Regions from separate parts of the Homo sapiens genome. Here all the other regions are linked to region 1. The links are contacts of gene promoters, found by promoter capture Hi-C in blood cells and fetal thymus (Javierre and others, 2016). All regions are on one chromosome and are shown on one strand. Each heading gives the region's core, a stretch centred on a gene start or on the middle of the fragment in contact. The rest is flanking DNA. Distances are from core to core; before and after follow the strand shown.

Region 1 (2,700 bases), core at 32-2,531:
CTTAACTCAGAGCACTATATGAAAGCACTGCATTTCCAGGCACTGCCAAGCCCGTTTGTTCATAAAATAAAGCAACAGTTGGGCAAATGTCAAAAGCCACACTACGAAGAACCTGACAGTAAACAGAAACCGATTAGCATAATCTACGTGGTCTGAGTGGTACTAAAACTTGACCTTTTTTTCTATTTTGATCTTTGCTACACAGCATAAAACAAAACAAAAATATTTAAAGTAAACTGCTAAATACAGCAGCAACTTCTGAAAGTCTAGGTCAGTAAAATTTAGAATGCTGCCTTGCTTGCAGGCAACAAGGGGTAGAGGACAATAAAGAACCTTTGTGTTCCGACTGGCAGTAACACAGCAGCGACTGCAGCAGCTCTATCCTTTAAAAAGGAGGCAGCTCCCTGTGTATTTATCACGACTTACATTAACTGGTCACGACAGTCTCCACCATTAGACTGTAAGCTCCAGGAAGGCAAGGACCATGACTCACCACAGTAGCCTCAGCGCCTAAAATAGGCGCTCAATAAATATTTGCTGCAGAATAAATGAATAGGCGGCGATGCAGAAGGGAAGAAGAGGCTCTGGGGACAACCCCAGAGTCCATGGGGACCTTCCTTGCCCGCTCCTCAAACTCTATACTAAGGTTCCCTCCAGCGTTCCCCAAGTCCTCCTGCGAGCTCCCAAACTCGGCTGAGTTTGCAGGGCGGCGACCAGCGCACCGACTTCCCCTCTGCCTGCCGCGACCCGCGGTGGGGTCCGCACGAAGCAGCCGCGGCACGCGGGGCGGGGCGACGCCAAAGTAACTCCGGAGCAACGCGCGGGGCCGCCGGTCCGACACACGCCCTTCCCTGAGCGGCCGCCGCCGGGCGCACGCGCCCCGCAGCCCGAACGCCGCCCCATCCCTAGAGAAATCAGGCGGCGGCTGTTTGGGCTTTTGTGTCTGTAGAAAAACGCGTAAATGCGTGAAAGACTCCGAGAAAAACCGGTTCACCCTCTTCCGCCACCCACTCAGGCACAGCCAGCAGTCCGTGTTCCCAAACACTGCTGATTCCCAGCAGGCCCGCCTCCGCCTCGGCCCGGTCGACTCCGGGCCCGGCCCTTCCCCCCGCGTCTGTCTCTCCCAGAGGCGGTAAGGGCCTGGCATCCGCAACCCCGCGCGGTTTCACCTTCTGAATCGCAGCGGGAGTGATCTCCCCCTTGCCTCGCTGCCTCGGGGCCGCGAAAGCCACAGACATGTTGCCGCCGTCACCACTATCGGCAAGTCCCGAGCGCTCCGGGTGAACGGCAAACTGGGGGAGAGACGCCGGCCTCTCGGGCTGAACCACCTCGGGAATGCGGGGAGGGGGGATGCTCCGGGGCCAAGCGGACGGGCGGCGGGGCAGGCCTGAAGGAGGCACTCTGGCCAGGGATGTCTCGCTTCTGCGCACTCTGGGGGACCCCTAGCCCTGGCCGAACTTTCTTGACCGTCCCTGCATCCCCCGAGCTCTCCTTATGGGCACCCCCTGGCCCTTTGCGCTAATGGTAGAGTCGCGCCCTAGTCCTCCCTCCGCTTCAGCGATTCAGGAAATGGTCCCGCCGCCGCGGGAGAAGGAGAGGCTGGGGCAGCCCCTGTCACAGGAAATGCGAGCGGCCCAAGCCGGCCCGCCCCCTTCGCGCCGTGGCAACTTGCCTCCCTCTCCGGCCCTCTGAAGCGTCTCCCCGACTGTGTTGCAGAGCGTGCCCTAGACCTAGTTCAGTTTTTCCAACTTCATCCTTACTTACGCCTCCTGGCAAGAGTGGCCGCCCCGAGTTGTCCCGGCAGCCCGGAGAGGGGAGGGAGGTCAAGACTCGGGAGTTCGTGCAAATCCGTGGAGCATCTGCCGAGATAGGGCAGAGGTGGAAGGACAAGGTGAACGCGGATTCGCTGGTTTAAATGGCTCGGCTACGCCCCAAATGCGCACCTCCGAGTCCACAGTCTCGCACGCACGCACAAAGTCGTGCCTAACAATTGGAAAGTAACCCTGACCCGAAACCGGGACACCAAGGTTGTGTCCAGTGCTCAGGGGCAATCGGCCAGCTTGGCTGGAGCGGACAGAGAAGAGCTCGCCTCTTGGGACAAACCCTTAGCAGGAAAGTGGGTCGATTTCGTCTGACTTGGCTTTTTGGAATTAAGTTGTGAAACAGGGCATCCTCACTCTCTGTTTTTTAAGAGAGTACTTACTTAGTGCCTTGTAAATTAGGCCCAAGCTGCCAGGCTTCAAGTCAGTGTAAGGGAAAAAGGCAAAGTTTTCAAATTATGGAAGGAACACGGACAAATGTGGGTTTTGTGTTGCCGTGGGGTTTTAAAGTATTCTGTAAATTTAGACTTCCATATAACACAAAGGGAAAGTTTATATAAAGTGTTACCCAACGTTAATGAATAATAAAAAATATTTCCATTTTTATATAAATTGGAAAAATAAAGAAAAAATACATTATTTTAAAAATTTAATCACTTGAGGCCAGGAGTTTGAGACCAGCCTGGGCAACAAAGTGAGACCTCTGTCTCTACAAGAATTTTAAAAATTGGCTGGGTATGGTGGTGTGCACCTGTAGTTCCAGCTACTAAGGAGGCTGAGGTGGAAGAATCACTTGAGCCAAGGGGGTGGAGACTGCAGTAAGCCATGACTGCCCCACCACACTCCACCCTGGGTGACACAGCAAGACCCTGTCTCAAAA
Region 2 (2,700 bases), core at 61-2,560, 350 kb after region 1:
CCAGATAAGGACAGACCTGTAGATGTGTTAACTACTGAGATTTCCCGGAGAAAGTGGAAGAGTGGCAATGGAATATCAGTAACAATAAAAAATCAGTAACTAGGAACAAAATCAACAATGTTCCTAGTTATCTAAAAGGGTACAAAAACATCTAAAATCAACTATTAATGGCACCTTTTCTGCATTATGTATTAAGTGGAATTTTTACTTTTATTTTTAGACAGAAGCTTGCTCTGTCACCCAGGCTGGAGTGTGGTGGTGTGATCTTGGCTCACTGCAACCTCCACCTCCTGGTTCAAGTGATCCTTGTGCCTCAGCCTCCCAAGTAGCTGGGATTACAGGCATACGCCAACACACCCAGCTAATTTTTGTATTTTTTCTAGAGACGGGGTTTTGACATGTTGGCCAGGCTGCTAGCAAACTCCTGGACTTAAGTGATCCGCCCACCTGGGCCTCCCAAAGTGCTGAGATTACAGGCATGAACCACCGTGCCCTGCTGGGTGGAATTTTTTAATTGCAAATAATATAAACCAATTTATATAGCTTAAAGAAAGTGGAGCTTACTCCGACAGTACAGAGCTGTCTCACAAAAGTGACAGCAGGGACCCACCAGGCCTCAGGAGTCAACCAGAACCAAGAAATCAACTGCTGTTGTTGCTGCTTCTGCTGTACCCCGGCCTCTGAATTTTCTCTTGCCCGTGAACTTGGCAGCCCACAGAGCTAAGGCTGATAGTTCCTCTTTTTGACAGCGCAGCCAGACAGAGATGAGTCTCCTAGACTCAATTATATATTTGCATGTAAGAGACCTGACACAGGTATTCCCTCTGGGCCGATCAATGAGGGTGGTGGTGTCCTGGGTAAATGTAGCTTCTCCATTTATGGTGCAGTGGAGGAAAGGGTGTATGTGTGTGTGTGTGTTCTGTTCAGAAAGTTGGGCAGGGGATAGGGAACTGTTCTCAGATGCAGTGTTGTCTAAGCTGACACCCAAGTTTCTTGATAAATTATGCCCTGAATGTTTATGAATAGTGTATCAAAGAAAGCAGATGCCCAGGCCCTTCCAAAGAAGTCATTTCCTTCTTGATGGACATACTAAAGGGATAGAAAGGGAGGATGCAGGGATTTGTAATCAGGAGGATCTGAGTGGAAAAGCCATAAGTGCGCCAGCTTCCTCCTCTTTTTCTTGAGGGGCTAGTGCCAAGTGCAGGGCTGGCTCACAGTGGGTGCTCAGCAGCTCTGAATGCATGAATGAATGAATGAACGAATGAATGAGTGATAGCCTAGTCCTGTGGGTTCACAGCTGTTGGGAACACCCGTACCCAAGTAATGCTGGTGAAGAGGCTGGCATTATCCTAGAGGGAGAACTTTGATGGTGTGCTTCAAGTCAACAGTGATGTCTGTGGCTCGGATGAAGATGGACAGGCCATGCTCAGAGAATTCTCAGATGACTCAAGACTTGAAGGAGTGAATAGCTTCCTGGAGGACAGATGGAAGAACCCCAAAGCATCCAAAACACTAATCCTGTGAAATTTCATGGGGAATAAGGGCCAGTTCTTTCTTTGGTTATAAATGATCAATTGCTCAAGGGATGGGGGATATCTGGCTTGATCAAACCCAAGGTCCGGGTGGTGTCTGCTTCTTAGGTTGCACTAAGTTGAGTACAGTGTCCAGATCAAGGGCATTTTAGTTGAAGAAAATGGGGCTGCTTAATCTGGTAAAGAAAGCAGTAAGGACTGATTCAATGCCTTTCTCCTTAGTGGAGGACAGTGGACCCAGGGGAAGAGCTGTTAGGGCAGCAAAGGCACCCAGCGTGACAGTAGCAAGCTCCTTGTCAAGTCAGTGATGGCTGACCTGGTGAAGGGTGATGCCTTCCCACATTCTTTCTTGTTTGCTCCCCTTAACAGTCTTCAGGTGCAGTTGAGGCAGATGGCAGTGTGCTCTCATTAGCTAAAGAAGCTGGGCCGCTAAAGAGTGTTTAAGTGACCCGCTCAATGTCACATAGCTAAGCTGGAACCCAGGCATTCTGGGTTCCAGGCTACCCATGATAAGCATTGAAGGCGAAGCTGGAAGACCGTGGTGGGGTCTTCCGTGGGATGCCTTCCATGGGAGGGAGAAGAGCTACCTTGAAAGATGCCTAGCTCCCAGTGTCTGTGACTTTGACAAGGGCAGAATGTCAGCCTCTGCTGCAAACTGTCTGTGTCCCTGACTACAGACGATGAGAGGTGGTGAGCAGTTAACATTTTTCCTACCTGTATGCCCTGCTCCATTTCTGAATGAGTTATGTCATTTATTCAACAGGATAATTTAATGATGTAGCCACTTCCGCCGTTGGAACAGTATGTTCTGATACTCATGGCTGTACTTCAAGAGTTGTAACTTCCGGATTAATTGCAGAATCAAGCTTTCATTTATCTGAGATTTCTTAATCAGTGAGAGTGACAAATCAGACACACGTTTAATGTGGGCTAAAAAGTGCTCAGCATTATAACAACTAAATGCAACGTGTGATACTGGACTGGGTCGAGTCAGCAAACAAAACAAAAGAGCTTTTAAAAGAATTACTGGGCTCACGCCTGTAATCCCAACACTGGGAGGCTGAGGCGGGTGGATCACTTGAGGTCAGGAGTTTGAGACCAGCCTGGCCAACATGGCGAAACCCCGTCTCTACTAAAAATACAAAAATTAGCCAGGTGTGATGGTGCC
Region 3 (2,700 bases), core at 186-2,685, 270 kb after region 1:
CAGCATAGAATTTATCTTTCTGCTAGAAACAACTCTACTGAGTTGTTCTAGTACAGGACAACTCACTGCTCTTTGTTTTTGGTCCATTTGTATATGATATGTGTAAATATTTTATTTAAATTGGGGTGTGCTATTTCATCATTAAGTATATTCCTATAAATATGCTTTGTTAGCATACATTTTATTTTGTGGCAAGAGTAGTTACTTGTAACTTTTAATTCCTTTGAGAATGTGTTATAGGCATGTCTAAGTTCCTGACTTTTCTACTACAGTAACATTATACAACAAATTATGTTAAATGTTTGCTTTGTGAGAAATCATCAGAGCACATGGGATAAGTATATGTGCTTTAGACTCAGAAAAATCTGGGTTTGCTTCTTGACTCTGTTAAGCTTTGTAACCTTGGATGAGTTCTTTAAACCCCATACCTCAATTATCCCCACCTGTAAAATGGGCATATTGCCTGTCTTATGTTTTAAGGATTGGTTTATGTGAAGTACTTAATTAGTGTCTGGTCTCAAGTAAGTGCTTAATGAATTGTCATATTTGTAATCATAGTAATAATTCCATGATTTTGGCTTTTAATAGTATTTTATCAGTAGCATTAATGGCCCATAGTGAATTTGCAATGTTAATCATTAATCTCTCCTGAGCATCAATTCTTATTCTCCTTTGAATTTGTCACAAATTTTAGAGAATACTTTCTAATTTATAATAAACAGATTTTTAGGTGTTTTTATTTATTATATGTTTGAATCTGAGAAAATCCATTGGTTAGGGAGAAAACCGAATGTGCTGTTTGTGTTCAAAACAATGATAAAAACCATTATGTGATTTATCTACAATAAAATGCAAAATTATTTAATTTTTAGTTTCAAAACAGATGTTTACTAACTTGGATATAAATATATTGAATTGTCTGTCACTTGGTGCTTCTTTAGTTTTGAGAACTCAGGCATGCATATTTTCCCCTGTACTTCCTGTACTTTAAGCTGAGATAATAGTCATATAATCAGTCCTTTGGATCTGTGGGTTCTGTCCACATCTGTGTATTCAGCCAACTGCAGATCAAAATTATTCGGAGGAAAAAACATCACATAATAAAAAATAACACTACAACAATTAAAAACTATACTAAATTTAAAAATACAGTATTACACTATTTATATAGCATTTACATTGTATTATGTAGTATAAGTAATCCAGAGGTGATTTCAAGTATACAGGAAGATATGCGTAGGTTACATGCAAATACTATGCCATTTTATATCAGGGACTTGAGCGTCTTTGGTTTTTGCTATCTATATCTTGGTGCCAGTCCCCCGAGGATACCAAGGGATGACTATAATGTCAATTTGAATTGAAAATATCTATTTCTTTAATCAGCTGGTGACATTTTTAGTACAATTATTATTTTGAAATTTGCTGAACACTAGTTTCCTTGTTGTTGATTTTTATTCATGGTGTTTTAACTTTAAAGGCATTTTTGTTTTCAAAATGAGAGACAGGCTGGGTGCAGTGGCTCCAGCCTGTAATCCCAGCATTTTGAGAGGCTGAGGAGTGTGGGTCACAAAACCCTGTCTCTACCAAAAAAAAAAAAAAAAAAAAAAAAAAAAGGCAGCGCGTGGTGGTGTGCGCCTGTAGTTCCAGCAACTTGGAGGGCTTAGGAGGGAGGATAGCTTGGCCCAGGAGGTCAAGGCTGCAGTGAGCTGTGATCAGGCCACTGCACTCCAGCCTGGGTGACACAGTAAGACCCTGCCTAAGAAAAAAATAAAAGAAAAAAGGAGAGAGAGGAGAGAGCCCTATTGCATGCTCCTTCAATGTTTAGGTATACTGCTGATTTGCATTAGTTACAATTGTTAGAAACCTTTATTCACTTGCTTTATTTCTTCACAAATAACACAAAAATGATGTATGAAACCATTTTTACTTTCAATATTCTGTACTCTGGAAACAAAGCCTTTACTTTTTGTTTGCTTCTTTATCGATGGGAACCTGAAATCTTAACATGTTTGAGTTAAATTTTTTAGAATCAGCATATAATCCCAGAGAGAAGTGGGAGTAGAATCTAGTTCTTCAGAGGGTAACTCTTTAGTTTGAATGCAGGTTTTTTCCTACTAAAAGGGAGCACTCTCAGTTGGGAAGATTGAATAGAATGATGGTAGTTTTTAAAAAAATGTAACATTCAAAAACATAGCACTTTAACATTCGAAGATTACCTTTATTGTTGCTAAGAAATTGGAGAAATTAGTTTTAGACCTTTGTCCTTGAGTATTTTTTGTTATGATAAAGCAAAACTTTTCTCATTAAATATGATCTATTTGTATAATTTATATATTAACCTAGCCTTTGGAAATTTACACTTGATATTCTCTGAAGTCTTGGTAAAATTGAATAGCATCAGCTGCTATCTCCTTATGTTATCCTGACAAAGAGCAGCAAGTACCAATTACAATTTTGAATAAGATATTTATACCATAAGCTTATTGGCTAGTGGGTCGCAGGAGGGTGGAAAAATAGTTAAAATGTACTATTTGGGAGTACTTTGAAATGTGTCCTTTCCTTTTGCTGCTGTGGTTTGAAGTTATATATATGAAATTAGTTTTTAAATTAATGTAGGCCGTACAGATATTGATACAGTAAAATAAAACCTACTTTAAGATTTAGAGTATTTGTATGTGTGTATTGTTTATATGTATT
Region 4 (2,789 bases), core at 173-2,672, 460 kb after region 1:
GTTTTGGGTGCTGCTTGGACAGTTTGCAAACAACGGGCAGGACCCGCGCTTAAATTCGATATGAAAAACGCACCTTGGAAAGTATGCCTTGGCCTGATTATCGGGCAACTGTGGATCTGCTTCGTTGCACCAGCTCCGGAAAGGCTACCAAAATGATCTGCCCGTAGGATACTTCATTAAATACTGGAAAAGAAGACGTCTTTGGGCTACTATCTATAGGAGTCACGGGAAGAACACCCAGAAAAACAGATATATACCCTGCTTCCCCTCGACCAAAAGAAAAAAAAAAGTTGCTTAATTTTTAAAACCCAATAACACAAAATTACAGTGGAGTTCATAAAGTAGTTCAATTCCAAGTTTAATAAATGATCCCTTAAAAACATCCTGTGGTTCCATACACTCAATTCCAAAATGAAAGAATCAAAAAAGCTTTCTTCTTATTATTTCTGTAGAGGCAATATTGGTTGTCGTTCTGCCTATCAGGCAGCATCCAATTCCTCTACTTGACCTCTCCATATCATGAAGTCCGTTCAGACTACCACCTTGACAATCGAAGCTGCCGGTCACCCCTTTGAAAGGATGCTTTTTATTTCTTGTGCAGGATACATGACTTCTTTATAATCCCAGTACTATAGGGAACATTTATTGCAATTATTTAACTGTCAGAACTCTCTAAACTATGGTAAGATGTTTACAACTTTTAACAAGATTCTCCACCTTTTGCTGGTGGGGGTGGGGGGTCTCTTTGTATATTTGTGCTTCTCCACTTCTCAGAATACTTGAAAATAGTGACATGGTTATTTCGGCATGAAAAACTCCAAATGTTTCCCCCTCGATTCATAACCCAACTACTTCCATTTCAGGCTCACATTTTATGAAAGGTTATACTATACAGAAACATATTCAGCTCTTCCTCCTTTTTGCTTCCAGTTTTCTGAGTATCATCTGTTAATATACTGGATATAGTTGGTTTTTATCTGCCTGTTTCCTCTCTACTAAAGCAACACACACCCTTGTAGTTTCAGTCTGGTGCCTGGGGACATGGTGAGCACTTGTCATTTATATTGAATGAAGAGAATCTGTGTTTGGTTAAATCTTACATTTAGCAGGGAAGTTTTTGTGAAAAATTAAAAATAACATGAATCTGAAGCTCTGTATTAAAAATCAGGACAAATAGTAACTACAAGGCAACATTATTGTTTGCAAGTTAAAATGAATTTAATGGCTGCTTTGGATGAATATTTCCTTATCATTAATTCCCTCTCTAGTGGAACATGCTTTAGAAACTTATTGCAGAAGTAGAGTGAGGGACCCTTTTCTTGCAGTAGAGTTAATGTTGCCCCTTCTGAAGGCAGATCTGGGGAATGGAAGTGTCTCTATTAAGAGAGGTGGGCTGGGGAGGATTTAAATTGTTAAATTTCAGAAATTTTGTGGGCTCTTGAGAGCAGAGGCCAGAAAAAGCATTTAGTTCATCATTTTAAAGACACAAATTAAAAGAGACGCCATACTGTCTTGATGTAATTACTGAAAGATTCATAAAGGGCTTTCAAGGCTAAATATGAATTCAAATTGAAACTATTTTGGTATATCTTGGTTTTAGAGGTTTCTTTTTCTTTCTTTTTTTTTTTTTTTTCTTTTGAGACAGGGTCTTACTCTTTCACCCAGGCTGGAGAGCAGTGGCATGATTATGGCTCACTGCAGCCTCAACTTCCTGGGCTCAAGTGATCCTCCCATCTCATCTTCCCAAGTAGCTGGGACTACAGGCCTGCTCCACCAAGCCTTCCTAATTTTTGTATTTTTTGTAGAGATAAGTTTCCCCATGTTGCCTATGCTGGTCTTGAGCTCCTGGTCTCAAGTGAGCCACCACTCCTGTCTCAGAGTTTAGCTATTAATTCTGTTGAATTCAACTGAGAATCATCTTGAGTAATGTTTTTTGAACTCAGATGAAAATTGAACCCATGTCATCTAAGTTGACAAAGTGTAAGAAAAGAAAAATAACTCCACAGGAGCAGAAACTTTGTCTTATTTATTTCTGTATTTCCAGTTCATTTCCAATTCAGTTTCTTGGTATATTTTAGCAGAGTGACTGGCACATAGTAGATACCCAATAAATATACGCACATTTATGTGTGGGGAGAAAGCTAACTTCAACAAAAGGCTGTATAGCAGAGTGGTGAAAAACTCTCTCTGAAGCCAGCCTACCTGGGTGTGAATCCTAGTTTGCCTTACTAGCCACCCTTTTCTATGGCTCAGTTCTCTCATTTTATTACCTGGGTGATAATGATAACAGTCCCTACCCCTTGGGATTGTTTTGAGAATTAAATAAGTTGATATGCACAAAACACTTAACACATTGTCTGGAACATTCATACACATTTGACCATTACTTCTTATTTATTAAGGCTCTATTGTTTCCCAAGCTTGATAGCAAACAAGAAAACTAAGGCCAGAGAGGGTAAAAAAAAAAAAAAAAAAGGTGAAGACATTTGCCCAAGGTCTCCCAGACCTGACCAGGGCAGGCAAGTCTGGTTCCATAGGCCATGCTTGAACCACTTGACCATATTCAGCCTCTAGGAACCAAAGAATGAAGAGAGAAAGAGAGACAGAGAGAAAGAAAAGAAAAGATAAAAAGAAAAAAGAAAAGAAGATGAAAGAAAAGAAAGGAAGGAAAGAATGAAAGAAATAGGAAGGAAAGAAAGAATCTTCAATAATTCAGAAAGAAAGAAAAAGAAGGAAGGAGGGAAAGAAAGAAAAGAGAAAGAAAGAATAATCAAGGGAACAATTCAGAA
Region 5 (2,868 bases), core at 288-2,787, 300 kb after region 1:
AGACAACGAGTGTTTGCCACCATTCAGTTCTGTATATCTTATGCCGCCTAGCACAGTTCTTGCCCATAGTAGGTACCCAGTAACCCAGAGAATTTTGAATGGAATCAGAACGTAGACTAGCATGAAGCTACATTACCGTGGATGGTGGCTCTTGGGAGGAGAGGCCCGTATGGAGTCACTGCAAACCCCAACAGGATTCCCGAAGCCACTGGGTTCATAAAGATGTCCTTTCTGCTTCTGACTTAGAGCAGTCATCCAATTTAAGGAAATGTGGAAAAAGAAGTAGAAAAATCTTTAAAGGTTTTATTTCACAACACTGCTGTATTAAGTTGAGGGATAAAAATTGGATTACTAGTTATTTTTGGTTATTTAGTATCATTATTAAAATGGTGTTATTTATCTAAAATTGATAACTGATGATTTTCCATTTTTTCTTGTTAGAGCAATAGAGTTCCTCAGAAGTTTCATTATAAAAACAAGAAACTTAGTTCAGTGGTATAACAAAACAAATTAGGTGAGATAAGTTGTTAGTGGGCTGGGTAACATTAATGAGTAACAATTATGAAGGCTAACATAATTGATCTGGCAATTTTAGAAGATGTTAACATTTAGGTTTGAGTAGGCTTCCTAGGACATCTTTTGTGCACCTGGGAAATGAATTGGTCGTTTCATCTTTCATTTTCATCCAGGTGAAGAATCCAGATTAAGGAATATCCTCATGTAGAAAGTTACATGGGAAAACCTTCTATTTCCGAAGTGAACAGTACACTAACAGTGAGAAGAATAAACAGCGTTTTTTTTTTTTTTTCTTCTTCTTCTTCTTCTTCTTGCAAACTCTGGGCCCTTAACCACATTAGTATTCTTTGTGATTTCTAATGTGACCAGAAATCAGTCCTAGTCAACTCTGGGGAAAGGACTTGGTGAGGCAGAGGAAAATTAAAACTGATGGTGAAAAAGCAGGTTTGGTTTTTATGGCTGTAAGTTACCTGTGCACTCTCTACCCCCTTGACTGTGGATAACTGAGAGTAGCTGGTTATTCTGGCCAGGTCATTGTGATTGACAAGTTACAGTTGTGGACTTTGCCAAATCAAAGCTCAGGAATAAAAATGCTATATATTTTGTATTCAGATTCAAGAAAGATTGACTTTCTAAGTTAGCTGCTATTTGGGGGAAGAGAATGCTATCACCTTCATAAAGTTGTGAATTATGAAAGACATTTCTGTTGGGTTACTGAATGTCCCTTGGGGTTTTTTTCATTTATAACATTGCCTCAGGCTCTCTGCTGCATCCTGTTGGAATGACCTTCTTTTCAACTCTGTGCTGGCAGCTGTAATATGGCTCTTTCCCCTGAATCCTTCAGGCTTGTCACATGACAAACATGAACTGTGACCCCTTTGTTCCTTACTCAGATGATTAGGTCTCTTTATTTTTTTTTTCTGTTTGACAATTTTGCCTTATTGTCTTTCCTTTCCCCCCTCTCTTTGCTTCCATGTTAATTTCCTCCTGAGGCAAGGTTTTTGGGGTAGCAATTTAATTTTTTTTATTGAAATATAGCATCAATATAGAAAGTACACAAGTCATAAGCTCACCACAGTTTTCACAGCATGAACACATTCATGTAGGCAGTAGTTAGATCAAGAAGGAAACATCACCAGAACTCCAGAAAACTTCAGTCTCTTTCTAATCACTTCTCATCTCCCCCATGGGAACTCACTCTCCTGACTTTTTTTTAGCTTTGCCTGTTCTGGGACTTGGTAGAAATTGAATCATACAGTATGAATTCCTTTGTGTCTGGTTCCTTTCATTGAACATTTTTGTGATACTCTTTCATGTTACCCAGTCGTTATTGCTGTGTATTATTCCATGGTATGACTATTCCACAATTTATTGTACTCTTAATGTACTCACTCGGATTGTTTCTAGCTTAGGGCTCTTGTGAATAGTAGTCATCCTTATACATATCTTTTGATGAACCCATGGCATATTTCTGGGTGTTTACATAGATGTGGAATTGCCAAGACATTGTGTCTGTCTAGCCAGTTATTTTAAAATCTCATATAAAACACCAAAGTACTGATTTTAGGAAAACTCTTAGAAGATTTATAAACATATAGATACAGTTTTAGCATAATGTATCTAATTTATGGCTAAAGAAATTGCCTCTAGTTAAATGTATTGTAGTTGTTTTTTGTTTTTTAAGACAGAGTCTCACTCTGTCACCCAGGCTGGAGTGCAGTGGCATGATCTTGGCTCACTTCAACCTCTGCCTCCCAAGTTCAAGCAGTTCTTCCACCTCAGTCTCCCGAGTAAGTGAGCTTACAGACGCACACCACCATGCCTGGCTCATTTTTATTTATTTTTTGTTAGAGGTGGGGTTTCACCATGTTAGCCAGGCTGGTCTCGAACTCCTGACCTCAAGCGATTTGCTTGCCTTGGCCTAAATATGTTGTAGTTTTAAATGGGTTACTCCTGTAAACAACAAAATTTCCACTCACTGCCAATTACATGTTTTAGTAACTTTCTTCCTAATATGTACTTTTTATTCAATTTTCCAAACAAAACTGAGCTTTTGGTCCCATTCCGCAAAAATCTTATGAAGATATTTTGATGGTAATAATTTACAATAGTTAAAGTTACATCTGAGTTACACCATCTCTGAGTGTTGATGCTAGCAGAGTGGCATGCTAGTGCTTCACTGCCAGGCTTAGCTGAAGTACCAGAGGCTTACACTTGTACAAATTGCATTCATTACCAAGAACCCTGCAGAAGTGGCGAGAGACTGGCTCTATACTGTAGATGGGCTCTGGGATAAGTAGCCGAACAATTGGGCAGCTGAGACCAATTTTTTTCCCTCTTTTAGAACGTGGA
Region 6 (2,807 bases), core at 25-2,524, 320 kb after region 1:
TGTAATTTTATTCTTACTAGCTTGGGAATGATACACTTTATTCTTTATTATTATTCTAAAAATTCTAACTTATCAGTCTGAAGTTAATTAGTATTTTTTCTCTCTAAATAGTATATAGTTCAGAATACTTTAAATCCTATCAACAAACCCCTTCCCTAATCTTAGATCATGTGCTATTGGTGTCTTATATTTTGGTTCTAATTTTTAACTCTATAAGACATGATTATTACTTTTTTTTTTTTTTTTTTTGAGACAGGTCTCACTCTGTCACCCAGGCTGGAGTACAATCGTGTAATCTTGGCTCACTGCAGCCTCAACCTCCTGGGCTCAAGCAATTCTCCTGTGCCAGCCTCCCATGTAGCTGGGACTGGAGGTGCGCACCATCACACCTGGCTAATTTTTTTATTTTTCTGATTTTTTGTAGAGCTGAGGTCTCCCTGTGTTGCCCAGGCTGGTCTCGATCTCCTGGACTCAAGTGATCTTCCTGTCTAGGCCTCCCAAAGTGCTGGGATTACAGGCATGAGCCACCATGCCTGGCCTATTTCGTGATTTTTGACTGTGAGCTCATATCTGTAGAAATTATTTGATGCTAGGTTGAGTAAGTTTCTCTTGGGAAGGTTTGTACTTACCTCTTCCAGGCATCTGGGGGAACCACCAGTCATAGGCATCTTTTAACTAAATATTCAACTTGAGGTTTTTTTCTTCTACTCAGGTTCAAGGTTGAAAGAGGCAAACTCCTTGCTTCCCCTTGAGGGAGGGAGTGGGTGAATCTATTTCCTAGTTAATTAACTGGAAGATATAACCCATTAGGGTTCTAGATTTATGGAGGGGGCTCTTCTATTGGCCTCCCCACCTTGACCAGGCCCTGTTTTTTTCACCCAGCAAGGCTGTGAAAATAAAAATTCAAATTTACTTTTAGAGTAAATGTTATTAAGATATAAGGTGGCATTAGAATTCTGCTTATTTTTCTGGGCTTTCACTCTCACCTTTGCTTGGTTTTCAGTCACTTACTTTTTTTTTTTTTTTTTTTTTTTGCCAAACTCATCAATGCTTTCTGTATATCAGCATTGTTCATTATTTTCCATATGAGGATAGGCCAGAGTATCTTCTCCATCAGACTTCGGGAAGCTACAGTCCTCTCGACAGTTACTATTCTAGTTCCTATTCCCAGAGTGCCAATTCTTGCTAGACAAAGTTTTGGGAGTTTCTAACTTCATTCACCTGAATGTTCACTGCTATTTAAAATCTTTTTCCTCTTGGCCTTGACCCCTGGCCCTCTGCTTTCCTACAAGTATGGAGACACCATCAGGTATGAGTTCTCTCCTCTCCTATCCTCTCTACTTTACAATACCTCTTTATCCACTTAATCTTTCCTACTTATTCTTCCCCCCAAGTCTCCCTTGGAGAATTGCCCCTCCTTTCTAAGGCCAAATCCTCTACCCTTGCTATGAATTCCATTTTTGTGGCCAAAATTCCTCTTTCTTTGCTCATGATCTTTTGCCAATTATATTCTTACTAATCGTTCAAGGCTGAGTTTAGTACTTTCTCCCCTGTGATGCCTTTTGAAATGTCCCTTCCCCCTTCATCCCTAATTTCCTCTCGACTCCAAGAGCACTTTGTTATTAACATAACATTAACACAGGACTTACACTGTTGTAAAAGGGAATTATTTGCATAACTGTCGTTTCTCCTTCTAAATTGTGAGTTCCTTAGAGAAGACACCATTTTCTGCATTATTTCTTACTGTGCGAAACATAATACTTTGCATATAGTGGCTCATTGTAAATGCTTCTTGCCTTCCTTAGAAATCAGTCTCTTCAACAATCTCTTTTCTTTACTCTGTCTTCATTTTCACTAGATCCCTCCTTTCTATGGTCAGACACATTCGAGTATTTTGGAACTTGAAGGGAAAGAAAAAAATCTCTGCTTAATCCTGCTATTTCCCTTTTTATCTTTCTTTTTCTAAATATCTTAAACATATGGTCTGTGACTTCTGTCTTCTTTCTTTACCCTGCATCTTTCTTTAACCGTCTGTAATCTGACCTCCACTCTCACCACTCTACTTAGACTACACTCTTAAAAATGAGTTTCCTTCCGATTACCACAGCCATGTCCTATCTGCAGCTTCTGTTTGATACTCTGAGCACCCCTGGTGGGAGAGCGACCTCTGCCTAGTGTGGCCCTGGGGTGCTGCCAGGGTCTCCTGCCCTCTGACCACTCTTCCTCCCCTCCACCCAAGCCTGTTCTCAGCTCACAGCTTTCCTTCCTATACTGAGGGACCCCCGCCCCACGTTTGTGACTTTAGCTATTATGGATGGGGCTGCTTTTCGCATCTTCATTCTCCTTCCCTAATTTCTTCGAAAACCAAAATCTGAATTCTTAAATTTTTTCCAGACATTTTCATTTGATGCCCCTCTGCTCAAGAAGGCTCCCTTTCCTCAATATGTTCATCTCTTCCATCACTTCCTGGTTCCTTTAGGCTCAACAATCTCAGTTTTGTTTGATCTTTCCCAATTTCTTACTCCTCTCTTTCTCACCCCCTGTGAAGGTGGCTCAGCCTCCACAAAATCTCTCTCGATTCCAGCTGTCTTTGCTTTGGTTTAGGACTCATCCCTGGATGAGTGCACCAGGCTCCCTGGCTATGCCTCTGCTATCAGGTTCTTTCCTTTCTCAGTCCTCTTGCATATCATTGCCTAATATTATAAAAATTCCATTCAAGGTCTGATGGAGGTCTATGGAAAAAGATGATGGATTAGAGAATCCGACAAGTCAGGATTTGAATCCCAACTTCACTACTTACTGGCTGT

What was found. The method cuts DNA at HindIII sites, captures the fragments that hold promoters and counts their contacts. A CHiCAGO score of 5 or more calls a contact.
Region 2: a contact is called between a fragment that was not itself captured here and the fragment with the promoter of SS18 in region 1, in 1 of 17 cell types (activated CD4 T cells). The highest score is 5.0, in activated CD4 T cells.
Region 3: a fragment that was not itself captured here is called in contact with the fragment with the promoter of SS18 in region 1 in 4 of 17 cell types (activated CD4 T cells, naive CD8 T cells, non-activated CD4 T cells and 1 more); the score reaches 20.6 in activated CD4 T cells.
Region 4: a fragment that was not itself captured here is called in contact with the fragment with the promoter of SS18 in region 1 in 2 of 17 cell types (activated CD4 T cells and naive CD8 T cells); the score reaches 7.1 in activated CD4 T cells.
Region 5: a fragment that was not itself captured here is called in contact with the fragment with the promoter of SS18 in region 1 in 6 of 17 cell types (activated CD4 T cells, non-activated CD4 T cells, naive CD8 T cells and 3 more); the score reaches 18.6 in activated CD4 T cells.
Region 6: a fragment that was not itself captured here is called in contact with the fragment with the promoter of SS18 in region 1 in 1 of 17 cell types (activated CD4 T cells); the score reaches 5.3 in activated CD4 T cells.

The regions. Positions count from the first base shown.
Region 1 is chr18:26,089,332-26,092,031 of GRCh38, forward strand. SS18 (SS18 subunit of BAF chromatin remodeling complex) reads right to left here and starts at 1,282. Exons shown (of 11, transcript NM_001007559.3): 1 at 1,170-1,282. The coding sequence starts at 1,238. RefSeq lists an enhancer at 1,617-1,736. The HindIII fragment of the contact is 4,894 bases long and covers 1-2,700 here.
Region 2 is chr18:26,438,460-26,441,159 of GRCh38, forward strand. No RefSeq gene overlaps it. Among named protein-coding and RNA genes, the nearest start is that of LINC01543, 17 kb to the left of the region's middle. The HindIII fragment of the contact is 2,171 bases long and covers 226-2,396 here.
Region 3 is chr18:26,361,783-26,364,482 of GRCh38, forward strand. All of the region lies in intron 14 of TAF4B (TATA-box binding protein associated factor 4b), which reads left to right. Among named protein-coding and RNA genes, the nearest start is that of LINC01543, 60 kb to the right of the region's middle. The HindIII fragment of the contact is 2,090 bases long and covers 391-2,480 here.
Region 4 is chr18:26,551,371-26,554,159 of GRCh38, forward strand. All of the region lies in intron 1 of LOC124904273 (a long non-coding RNA gene), which reads left to right. It also overlaps a transcript of KCTD1 not described here. Among named protein-coding and RNA genes, the nearest start is that of KCTD1, 4.2 kb to the left of the region's middle. RefSeq lists an enhancer at 1-42. The HindIII fragment of the contact is 1,991 bases long and covers 428-2,418 here.
Region 5 is chr18:26,384,887-26,387,754 of GRCh38, forward strand. All of the region lies in intron 14 of TAF4B (TATA-box binding protein associated factor 4b), which reads left to right. Among named protein-coding and RNA genes, the nearest start is that of LINC01543, 37 kb to the right of the region's middle. The HindIII fragment of the contact is 4,105 bases long and covers 1-2,868 here.
Region 6 is chr18:26,413,621-26,416,427 of GRCh38, forward strand. No RefSeq gene overlaps it. Among named protein-coding and RNA genes, the nearest start is that of LINC01543, 8.0 kb to the right of the region's middle. The HindIII fragment of the contact is 3,518 bases long and covers 1-2,807 here.